Linked DNA regions of Homo sapiens: region 1 is linked to region 2. The links are contacts of gene promoters, found by promoter capture Hi-C in blood cells and fetal thymus (Javierre and others, 2016). All regions are on one chromosome and are shown on one strand. Each heading gives the region's core, a stretch centred on a gene start or on the middle of the fragment in contact. The rest is flanking DNA. Distances are from core to core; before and after follow the strand shown. Region 1 overlaps POLR2B (RNA polymerase II subunit B). Region 2 holds the start of EXOC1 (exocyst complex component 1).

What was found. Contacts are between HindIII fragments. The CHiCAGO score rates a contact against its expected background, and 5 or more counts as called.
Region 1: a fragment that was not itself captured here is called in contact with the fragment with the promoter of EXOC1 in region 2 in 1 of 17 cell types (total B cells); the score reaches 5.7 in total B cells.

Annotation. Positions count from the first base shown.
Region 1 is chr4:56,992,344-56,998,247 of GRCh38, forward strand. It overlaps POLR2B (RNA polymerase II subunit B), which reads left to right. Exons shown (of 25, transcript NM_000938.3): 4 at 2,061-2,173; 5 at 2,304-2,523; 6 at 2,908-3,066. It also overlaps the pseudogene LOC124900913. Among named protein-coding and RNA genes, the nearest start is that of POLR2B, 16 kb to the left of the region's middle. The HindIII fragment of the contact is 465 bases long and covers 2,686-3,150 here.
Region 2 is chr4:55,851,137-55,856,837 of GRCh38, forward strand. It overlaps EXOC1 (exocyst complex component 1), which reads left to right and starts at 2,512. Exons shown (of 19, transcript NM_001024924.2): 1 at 2,512-2,817. RefSeq lists a silencer at 2,304-2,403. The HindIII fragment of the contact is 2,625 bases long and covers 1,145-3,769 here.

The DNA.
Region 1 (5,904 bases), core at 1,668-4,167, 1.1 Mb after region 2:
AGTCCCAGCTACTAGGGAGGCTGAGACAGGAGAATTGCTTGAACGTGGGAGACGGAGGTTGCAGCGAGCTGAGATCACGCCACTGCACTCCAGCCTGGGCGAGAGGTCGAGACTCTGTCTCAAAAAAAAAAAAAAAAAAAAAAAAAAAAGAAAAGAAAATACTTGGTGTATTTAGGCTGGGGACCACAATGATCAGTATGTGATTTTGGCTTATCTATTTTTTTTTTTTTTTTTGAGACAGAGTCTCGCCCTGTTGGCCAGGCTGGAATGCAGTGGCGCGATCTCGGCTCACTGCAGGCTCCGCCTTCCGGGTTCACGCCATTCTCCTGCCTCAGCTTTTTGAGTTGCTGGGACTACAGGCGCCTGCCACCACGCCCGGCTATTATTTTTTTGTATTTTTAGTAGAGACAGGGTTTTGCCGTATTAGCCAGGATGGTCTCGATCTCCTGACCTCATGATCTGCCCTCCTTGGCCTCCCAAAGTGCTGGGATTACAGGGCTTCTCTATTTTTAATAGGCATTAGGAAGATAAGATGGAACCCGATTGTTGAAAGCTTTGAATGTCATTGGATGTTATGAGGAATTACTGAGAGACTGTCAAAGAATATACATAAAGCATTATTTTAGAAAAGTTACTTTGGAAAGTGATGCTTGCTTGGAATAGAAAGAGGCTAGAGGAGGCCAGATGTGGTGGCTCATGCCTGTAATCCCAGCACTTTGGGAGGCCTAGGCAGGCAGATCTCTTGAGGCCAGGAGTTTGAGACCATCCTGGCCAGCTTGGTGAAGCCCCATCTCTACCAAAAAATACAAAAATTAGCCGGGCCTGGTGGTGCGCCTGTAGTCCCAGCTACTTGGGAGGCTGAGGCAGGAGAATCACTTGAACCCAGGAGGTGGAGGCTGCAGTGAGCCGAGATCACGCCACTGCACTCCATCCTGGGTGACAGAGTGAGACCCTGTCTCAAACAAAACAAAACAAAATGAAACAAAACAAAAGAGACTGGAGGAGATAAAAATCTTAGAATAGCCTATGATTAAGATAATAATGACCTAGACTAGATGATGGCACAGATAAGGAGTAGAGGATTGGCTTCCCTTTGGTTCGTTATCACCACCGTTCTCTTTGCCCTTTATCCAGCCCAGCTTGGGAGACTTGAGTGTCAATAATTAATCATTAGTAAAACGTCTGCTTACTCCTGTTTTCTTCTCTGAGACTTGATTTAGAGAAAAGTACACTATCCATTTATCTCTAGAAAGTTGTCCTCATGGATCTTGTTTTATTAGGCAGCAAGTGAATGTTTAATTGAAAAATTTCTTTTTTTTTCTATGAACTAAGCTATATTCCAGCCAGAGTTGGAAATTCTCAGCCCTTTATATAGAATGATTAGGATATTTTGTGTGTTTTTTAAAATAAAAAAATCTTTTTCTTTTGTTAACTCTACTCCTTTGACAGATTAATTTGTATATTTAACTGAAGAGAGGTTTATTTTTTAAAATGTTCTATTGATTAGATTAGAGCATAGTTCTAGTTGTCTGGATTTGTTATCTTTGTTCTCTGGTCACTTTGTATTTTTGATGATGCTTACCAAGGAGAGGGCACAAGAAACTATGTAGATCATTAATGTAAATCCATTTTAACTGTTTCATATAAACTCAGAGCACATGATGTGTACAGTCTTTACTTTTAGTATATTAAGTCTCTTTTTGTCTTCTGCCTTAAGAAAGCAATTAGCAGATCCTTCTGTAGTTGATAAGTGTGTGATGATTGGGTGTGAGATGTGCCTTCCTTAAACCTTGTTACAAACCTTGTTAGCACATTACCTGTCTAATGTGAAAAAAAATTTTTAAGAAAAGAGGAAAAAAGAAAGTGATTTGGTTTAAAACTTAACGTCTATGCAATATGGATATTGACTTTGGGAAGTCCCCATTTCAGTAAAATGGATTAATTTTGCCAGTTTGTAGAGTTGCTTGTACTTAAAATGTTAATGTCAATTAAAATGGAATCACTAAAACTTTTATGGAAAAAATTATTTACCCTTTTCATGTTTTTTTGTTTAATTTCAGCCACGATATTTGCTGAAGTTTGAACAAATTTATCTTTCCAAGCCTACCCATTGGGAAAGAGATGGTGCTCCTTCACCAATGATGCCCAATGAAGCTAGATTAAGGAATCTCACGTAAGAAAGAATTTTTCCTTGTCAGCAGTAGATACTGAAATAGAATTTTGAAAATGTAATTTTAACCACTTGAGGATTTGTTTTAACAGATACCCTATTGCTTAACTGTGATCTACTTTTATTTTCAAAGGTATTCTGCTCCGCTTTATGTTGATATAACAAAAACAGTCATTAAAGAAGGTGAAGAACAACTTCAGACTCAGCATCAGAAAACTTTTATAGGAAAAATTCCAATTATGTTGCGGTCAACTTACTGCCTTTTGAATGGCTTGACAGATCGTGATCTTTGTGAGTTAAATGAATGCCCTTTGGATCCTGGTGGCTATTTCATTATTAATGGATCAGAAAAGGTATAGTAACATTATTTTAAAAAATTACAAAATGGTAGTTAAAATTTAGTTTAAAGTTGAAATGAAAAAAAAAAAAAAAAGAAAGAAAGATTTTCCTGCAGGATAACCTGGCACTGACAGTTGACTTGTTTAGGGTATGACAGCTAAACTTATATAAACCAAAGCTTTATTTAGCTGTATATAACATGCACTGGGAATTTGGTCAGTTTTGGAGTTTATGTATTTCTATGAAGCATTTATGCAAAATGGAGTTTGTAAAGTTGAAGAATTAAATATTTCAGTGAGCCTATATGGTCAGATTAAATTAAGATGCAGATTTTACTCTCTTTTCTCTTCAGTGATGTTTTGGATTTTATGGCTGTAACTTTCTTATTGTCCAAATAGGTTCTGATTGCCCAAGAGAAAATGGCAACAAACACAGTTTATGTGTTTGCCAAAAAGGATTCTAAATATGCCTACACAGGAGAGTGTAGATCATGTCTTGAGAATTCTTCCCGACCCACCAGTACTATATGGGTTAGCATGCTGGCAAGAGGAGGACAGGTATGGACTGGATATGATGCTATTTGGGTTTATTCCTTTGTGCTTTGTTTTAAAATTTACTAGACTGCCTTCTTTGTCCATAGAAGCTTTTCTGGAGCATATTGTTGTTATATATCGTATTGTTTACCTATCGCTGTGTAACAAATTACTCCTCTAGCAACATTTATCATCTCACGGCTTCTGTGAGTCAGGAATCTGGGTGTAGCTTAGCTGGGTCTTTTGGCCAAGCAACTCTCACAAGGCTGCAATCAGATGTTTCCCTGGGCTGCCGTAATCTCAAGAGTCATTCCCATGGTTGTCTGCAGGATTTAGTTCTTCATTGGCTGTTGGACTGAGTCCCAGGTCTTTGCTCGCTGTTGGCTGGAAGCCTTTCTTTGTTCCTTGCCATGTGGGCCTCTGCGTATAGCAGCTGACAGCAGCATAGCAGCTTGCTTCTTCAGAGAGAGTAAGCAAAAAGAGCCATAGAGAGTACGAGCAAGGTGGAAATCAGTCTTTTATAACTTAAAAGTGGTAGCAACATCCTGTCATTTTTGCCATGTTCTTTTTGTTGGTTGCAAGTCAGTATGTCCAGCTCACACTAAAGAGGGTATTACAAGGGCAATAGTAGGAGGCAGGAATCATTGGGTACCAGCTTAGAAGCTGCAGACCACTGGTATAGTTATAAGCATAGGTTGCTTATAATAATGGAACCTGGTAGTAGCTAGCAGTTCTTAAATATTTGCTGTATGCCAATTCTGTTACTCAGATTGCTTGATTTAATTTTTACAGCTATCTTGGAAAACCTCTATTTCAGTTCATGTGTGTGTGTGTGTGTGTGTGTGTGTGTGTGTATGTATATGTGTGTGTGTGTGTGTATATATATATATATATTTTTTTTTTTTTTTTTTTTTGAGACGGAGTCTTGCCCTGTCACCAGGCTGCAGTGCAGTGGCATGATCTCGGCTCAGTGCAAGCTCCGCCTCCTGGGTTCACGCCATTCTCCTGCCTCAGCCTCCCGAGTAGCTGGGACTACAGGCGCCCGCCACCGCGCCCGGCTAATTTTTTTTTTGTATTTTTAGTAGAGATGGGGTTTCACCGTGTTAGCCAGGATGGTCTCGATCTCCTGACCTCGTGATCCGCCCGCCTCGGCCTCCAAAAGTGCTGGGATTACAGGCGTGAGCCACTGTGCCCGGCCTTCAATTTTATTTAATAATTATGCATGTGTGGGATGCAATGTGATATTTTGATACGTGTATACAATGTGTAATGATCAAATTAGGGTACTTAGCATACCTGTCACCTCAAGAATGTTTTTCATAATATTTTATTTGTAAGATAAGCATTCTTCCCATGTGCACAACATTGCTGGGTATTGTTAAGAGATCATGAAAACACACAATCCTTATTGAGAAGGTGGCCAGGTGTGGTGGCTCATGCCTGTAATCCCAGCACTTTGGGAGGCTGAGGTGGGTGGATTGCTTGAGCCCGGGATGTGAGACCAGCCTGGGCAACATGGCAAAACACTTTCTCTAGCAAAACAACAACAACAAAAACCCAAAAATTAGCTGGATGTGGTGGCAGGCACCTGTAGTCCCGGTTACTCGGGAAGCTGAGGTGGGAAGATGGCTTGAGTGCTGAGGTTGCAGTGAGCCCAGATTGGCGCCACTGCACACCAGCGTGGGTGACAGAGCCAGAGCCTGTTCCAAAAAGAAAAAAAGAGAAAAAAAAGAATGGTTTTATTGGGAATACAAGCTTTAGACATTAAATGGTAGTAACACAGTGCAGAGGCCAAATGACACCTATTACATATAACAGTTTTATAGAAATTTGGAGGAGAATGAGGTTACTAGTATGGTGTGGTCCATGCAAAGTTTTTTTTTTTTTTTCTGAGACAGGGTCTCATTCTGTTGCCTAGGCTGGAGCGTAGTGGCGCGATCTGGGCTCACTGCAACCACCACCTCCTGGCCCAAGCGATTCTCGTACTTCAGCCTCCGAAGTAGTTAGATTATAGGCATGCTCCACCACACCTGGCTAATTTTTGTATTTTTTGTAGAGACAGGGTTTCACTATGTTGCCTAGGCTGGTCTCGAACTCCTGAGCTCAAGTGACCTGCCTGCCTTGGCCTTCCAAAGTGCTGGCATGAGCCACCGCCCCTGACCAGTTCATGAAACTTAATAGAGAAGATGGGACTTGACTTACACTTTGAAAGATGGTATGGATTTATATAAGCAGAGAGAAACTGGAAGGACATTCTTATTAGAGGAGAGTGGGGATGAGTATTTGGAGAATCACTGGAAGATAGCTCTAATTGAGCTGGATGAAGTATGTTGAATAGTGAGTGACAAGTAGATGATCAGGGTGGATCTGGATTAGTGGATCTTAACTAAAGGTTCACCTCAATAACCTAAGACTCTTCCAAGTACAAAAGGGGCCCATTTCCAAATCTGCTGACTCAATAGTGAGAATGGGAGTGGAATGGGGCCCAGGTACAAGTATTTGAAAGAGGTCCCCAGGTGATTGTGATGTGCATTCTTTGTCGAGAGGCATCGGCCTGGATGACAGAGGGCAAAGACATAAACAGTATATTAGGGAGACTATCATGGCAACTCTGAACAAAATGAATTAATTAGAGACAGAGAAAGGAAAATGATCTGGATTTGATGATAGGTTTGATAAGATAAAAGGATGAGTCAATTAAGATACTATGATTTGTATTCTGAGGTTCCAGGAGAGCGGTGAACTTCGAGTAACTGATTTAGGAGAGAACATAATAAGTTCAGTTTTAGATAAGATTTTTGGGGAGTGCATGTTGTAGACATTTTTTTTCTTTAAATTTTTTTTTTTTTTTTGGAGACTAAG
Region 2 (5,701 bases), core at 1,262-3,761:
ACTATTTTACATAGGGTTCTCTTGGAAGGCCTCAGTGAGGTAACATTTGAGCAAAGACTTGGAAGCAACATGGTAGTAAGCCATGCAGACTGAGGCATGAGAATTGCTTGAACCCAGGAGGTAGGAGGTTGCAGTGAGCTGAGATCATGTAAGTGTACTCCAGCCTGGGTGACAGAGCGAGACTCTGTCTCAAAAAAAAAAAAATTAGTATTTGCTAGATTGCAATAATTGGTTCTTCAGGAGTTGAGTGGGGAATGCTGCCACCAGGATAAACACTATGGAATTCATTGCACTTCAAACTTTTACTTAGTTACCTTGTGCTTCTTACGGAAGTGGACAAGCTGGCAAAGAAAGGAGTTACTATGCTCGTGGGAGTAATCAACTGTGATTAGCAAAAGGATCTAGGATTGTTGCTCCACAATAGCACTAGGGAGGAATTTGGAATCCAAATAATTCGCTGGGGCTTACTAGGTGTTTCTGTACCCAGGGATAATTTGAACAGGTAATTACAGCAATCATGGCTTAACCAGAGAAAGGAAAATAAAGGCTGAAGGTGGGGGCTATTTCACCAGAGAAACAACTTAGACCAGCTGATGTGCTGGTCAATGGTGAGGGAAAATTAGAATGGGTAGTGGAAGAGGGAGTTAATACAAGTATGGTCCTGACATTGATGCAGCAGTAAAAACTGAAGCTTATTCTATTAACTCTCTTATATTAAGGCTTTGCTGAGATTGTGGCTGGCCATCACCTTGAAGAGACCTCTGTGAAGGACTGAACATAACAGAGCACACAGGCAGATCAGAGTGCTGCAAGATATGGACACCTTCTATGTCCTTCTGTGCAACTTAGGCCATGACTTCAAATCCCTTCAGCCTATTATTCTAACCACTGCTGCAGCAACCTGCTCGGAGCAGGTTTGATGACCTTTGAACAAGTGCGAAATACCAGCACCTCTCCTCTCACTTCCTGCCCCAGCATGTCTCTGATGTGGGAGTCAGCTTGGCATTCACAACTGTGCGATTTGTAAGTGTGAAGTAGTTAATGCCCAAGGGCATTAACCTTCGATCAAAGAGGACAGGAGCCGACATACAAATGCTTCCTCCGTTCTTTCCTTTAATGGACAGTTCTGAGACTCATTTCATAAAGCTTCTTAGAAGGTCCTAAGGGACTAAGAAAACATTCAAATATGGTGATGACCAACTCAGTAACACATTCTTATACTGCATCTCCCTTTTTGTTTTGTCTTCTTCCTCTTCCCTCATTTTGCTCCCTGGGATCAAATTTCCAAATAAACTATTGCATATAAGTGTCACTTTGCAGGGAATCCAAGAGGAGAGAGGATAATTTAATTTTTGGACACACAAGTTTGAGGTGTCTATAAGACATCCAAGTGGAAATGTCAGGCGATGGGCAGTATATACACAAATCTTGAGGTTCAAGAAAGAGATCTAGGCTTCTGAAATGCAATTCATTTCCCAACTTTGAGGAGGGCTATAAACATACAGGTAAATAAAAGAAAGATAATAGGACCAAAAAACACATGCAATTGTCATAGAGTGTCCACAGTAAGCATTCCGGTGCCAAGCAGGAAAGGGTCTTTGTAAAGATATAACCAGATCCTGCTCTTAAAAGGGAAGTCATTTGATGAAAGTGAAAAGTATTCTAACTACTGTTTGCTCATTTAAATTTCTAGCACATTTATCTGATCTGTACCTCTCTTTGGTCACTTATTTTGTGTCCTATTTTATATATATTTGTACCTACACCTTGTCTAGTCCTACCACACTGTGAACTCCTTTAGGTTAAGATTCATGCCTGAATCACCTCTGTACCTGGAATCAAAGTGCCTAGCATTAAAAAAAAAAGGTGCCAGGAATATTGAATAAATAAAACACCTACCTGCAACCAGCAACATTGGCATCATTTATGCATCCCAAACTTAAATATGCATAAGCATCATCTTGCTAAGATGCAGATTCTGATTCAGTAGATCTGAAGTGAGCCAGAGAGGCTGCATTTCCTAAAAAGCCCCCAGATGATACCCAAGCAGCTGATCCACGGACCACACTTTGAGTATCAAGGTCATGAGGACAATGGTTCTTGACCTTAGCTGCATATGAGAATCATCTGGGAAGATATTAAAAGTACTGATGTCTGGGTCCCACCCGCAGGGATTCTGATTTAACTCATTTAAGCTCTCCAAAGTTTAAGTAGCAAAGATCTAGAGTTAATAGAGCTTTACGTATGAAAAAAGAAAACATTTAATCGAATTTCTTCTTAAATGAATTGCTGCAAATATCTGAATAAATAACTCTTAATCCCCAACTCCCAAGTCAGTTTCTGTGCCACAAAGGCCCCGCCCCTGCCCTTCCCTGACACGCCCCTCCAATGAGGCCTTGTTCCGCCTGGCCACGCCCGTCGGTTGGCGCCCCGCCCCTCCGCGTCTATTGGCCGCTCCCTTTTTCTCCCATCGCTGCTTCTTCCTTCTCTACGCGGTCAACTTCCGGCGCGGAGTTTGTCACGTGCCCGGATATAGGAAGTGTTGGGGGAACGGCCGCTTCCCGTTCAACGCTTTATTGAGGGGCGTATCCTAGTGGCCCCCATCCGGTCTCCGTTTTGGAAGACCCGCCTCGGCACAGCCAGGCTCAGTCCGGCCTTGCGGTAAGCCTTCGGCCGCGGCTGCCCGGTAGTCCCGGCGGCGGCGGACAGACGAGCTGACAGGCACCAGGGTCTAAGGCGGCTCCTCAGTCCGGCTGCTGTCTCCACGCCTGGGGTCGGGCACCGCTCCTTCTGACCTTCCTTTCCCCGTTTGTCCCGGTAAGACGAAGTTTGGTCAGAGCATTCTCCAGTCCCTTGTCCTCGGGTCTAGGAGAATGCGGAGCTGGGAGGGCAGTCCTCACGGGCCCCATTACGGTTCCGCCCATCGGAACCAGATTTTGTTTGTGCAAAATGACCCTGATCGTAAGCTCTTTGGCGTGGTCCAGGAGAGGAGAGCGTGACTGTGCCTTCCTCTTTGTCCAAATTCACATCCCGGCCCCCCAACCCCAACTCCCCCCCACCCCCCGCCAAATCTCTTAAGTGTATTTCTCTATTTCCTTGCACAGTTATATCTTCTAGATGGCAATGCTTCATGCATTAATATATCTCAGCAGCATACAGGGCCCAATGCACACGGGCACTCACACTGACAGGCTATTTGTCACACAGTGTGGTGGTCCAACTGAGCTGAAGGAAACAACCAGTACAGAGTAAGCAGTGGATGGCTGCCTTTGGAACGTGGTCAGATATGGGTTCTCAGACCTGGAGAATAATTTTAGAGGACCTCTAGGGATTTATTTACTGACTTTCAGAAAAGTACCGTAAAGACTGAAGAGTTAATCACTCGACTCTTAGGATGTAAATGCCATAGAAACACCCGGCTTCAGGTCTTCATAAACATATCTGTCATGTTGACTACTGTAACCTAGAATAGTGTCTGCCACCTAATAAGCATGAGTATTTGCTGAATGAATGAAGAGTCACATACTGCTTTTCATTATGGCTAACTCCTTTATGAGGTATGCCCAATCCTGTCTTGTTTTGCCTCTTACTGTACACTCAGTTGCTTTTAGCCAGAGAAGGAGTATGTGGTAAACGTTGGTCCCTATTATTCATTTGACCAGTTTTTACTATTCAGTTCTAATTACCTTAATAGATATTTAAGTATCCACTAAACACAAAACTATGATGAACATCCCTCCCTTCTTTAAGAGAATTCTTGAGATAGAGAAGCTTATGATTTAATGAGCCCATTAGACGGCAAATGCAGTAAGTGCTGTAGAAATTTAGAGGAGAGATCACTTTGGATTAAGATCTTCATTGAATCAACTTCATGTAAACCATGAAGTGTAATTAGGGTTTGGATAGGGCGGAGATGATATTCCTTACATGGAAAGTACCAAAGTGAAGATTTGATGTCCAAAATGAACAGAGTGTTTGGAGTGGAATGTTTTTGAGAACATTAGGAAAACGTTGAGTAAAAGCGTGATGTGATACAAACTGTCTTTTAAAATTATCTTGTTGTTCAGGGTTGTGGGACCTTGCAAAGAGAACCAGATTTTGTAGGGTTAAGTAAAGTTGATATGAACCTGGGTCAGTATATTTGCAGTGCGAAAAGAAAGGAATAAATTACATGTAGATGGGGGGAAATCGCAGAATGTGGTAGCAGATTTCATGTTGATAAGGGAATAGGGAAGCAAATATGGTAGATTTTGAACCTGGACATTTGCTTATAGATGTGAAAGTTAGGAAAGGGGAATCTTGGAGGAGCTATAGCTGTCATGTTAGTGAATTTAAGCATTTGTTAAATGCCTAGTTTGTCAAGTTCTAGGAATACAAAGATGATTAAGACATGGTCCTACTTTTAATAGGGGATAAAATACAGCTAGCTAGAAAATACAATTCATAAATGCCGTATTTATGAAGTAGAGGGGAAGTGTTAGAGAGGTAGAAATTACTCTTTGCGTGGGGCGGCTGCAGGGAGGGGGCTACTTTACAGAAAAGATGACATTTTAGCACAATCTTGAGGGATGAATTGTAATTTCCTAGGGAGAAGAGAATTCTAGGAAAAGAAGGTTGCATGAACAAAAGCCCAGAGATAGAAAAGTAAACTGGCCAGTGCCATTGTGGCTTGGGCTTAGGAAGAAATATAACATAGTGTCTGGGCCCTACAACATATTAAGGGATTAGCAGCATGGACACTCTATAATAAGCCAAAAGGAGGAGAGGTTGGGTGAAGGTGTGGAGAGACGGAGAAGCAAGCAATTGGGGATAATTGTATTTCATGGCTTTTATATCCTCTGCAAGGTAGATTGTTAAGTCATTTGCAGAGCGGGAGGAGGCTAACTGCTAGACCTGGAAACTGAAGGAGAGTAATAAGGATTTACAACAATAGTCATGGGGAACGGAAAAAGGAATCATCAAATGAGGGATTAATTGCCGAGCAGCATTGAAAGTCTAACTTTCACTGGATGTAGATATTTGTAATGCACGCAATGAGCGTGGATATGTGGCTTTTGAAAGTGGCATTTGGTAGTCCAAGAGAAGTGAAGAAAATAATACAGTTTATGGAGATTGATAAAAACAAGATCAGCTGGTCTACAAACAGGGTGAAATAATTGTAGGGGATAGTTTAGGTATAGGGAAATGAGCACTGTCTCCAGGCTAGGTTGGAAAAGAAGTAAACTTGGAGAGGCCAGATTAAGAGAACAGAAAGAAGGGCAATGTCAGAAGACTAGAGGCTGAGATGAAGTGGAAGTGGGAAGATGTGAATTTTATGAGAAAAGCAATTTTTGGAATTGGAGCAGAGATAGAAGTTTTACAGATTGAGTAAAATATTGGAAAGACTTGTTTTACAAAATAGTCATTGTGCTATAAAAATACGTTGTAAATCATTTATTTAAAAATCATGATTTCTTCATTTTCCCATAGAAAGAAATAGTGTTTTAGAAGTTAGTGTCCTAGGCAAGCTCACATGTATGAAATACTACACATTTGCATTGAAAAATTGTAATACATATCCACACAAATATGTATATGAAAAATAAAATAGAGATTTAAAATTATTTTAAGTTGATGTTTGAAAAGATGCTGAGTTAGATAAGAAAAAGGAGATAAGTGGAAACCTATTTTTATAACAGTTTTATTGAGATTATGTATCATA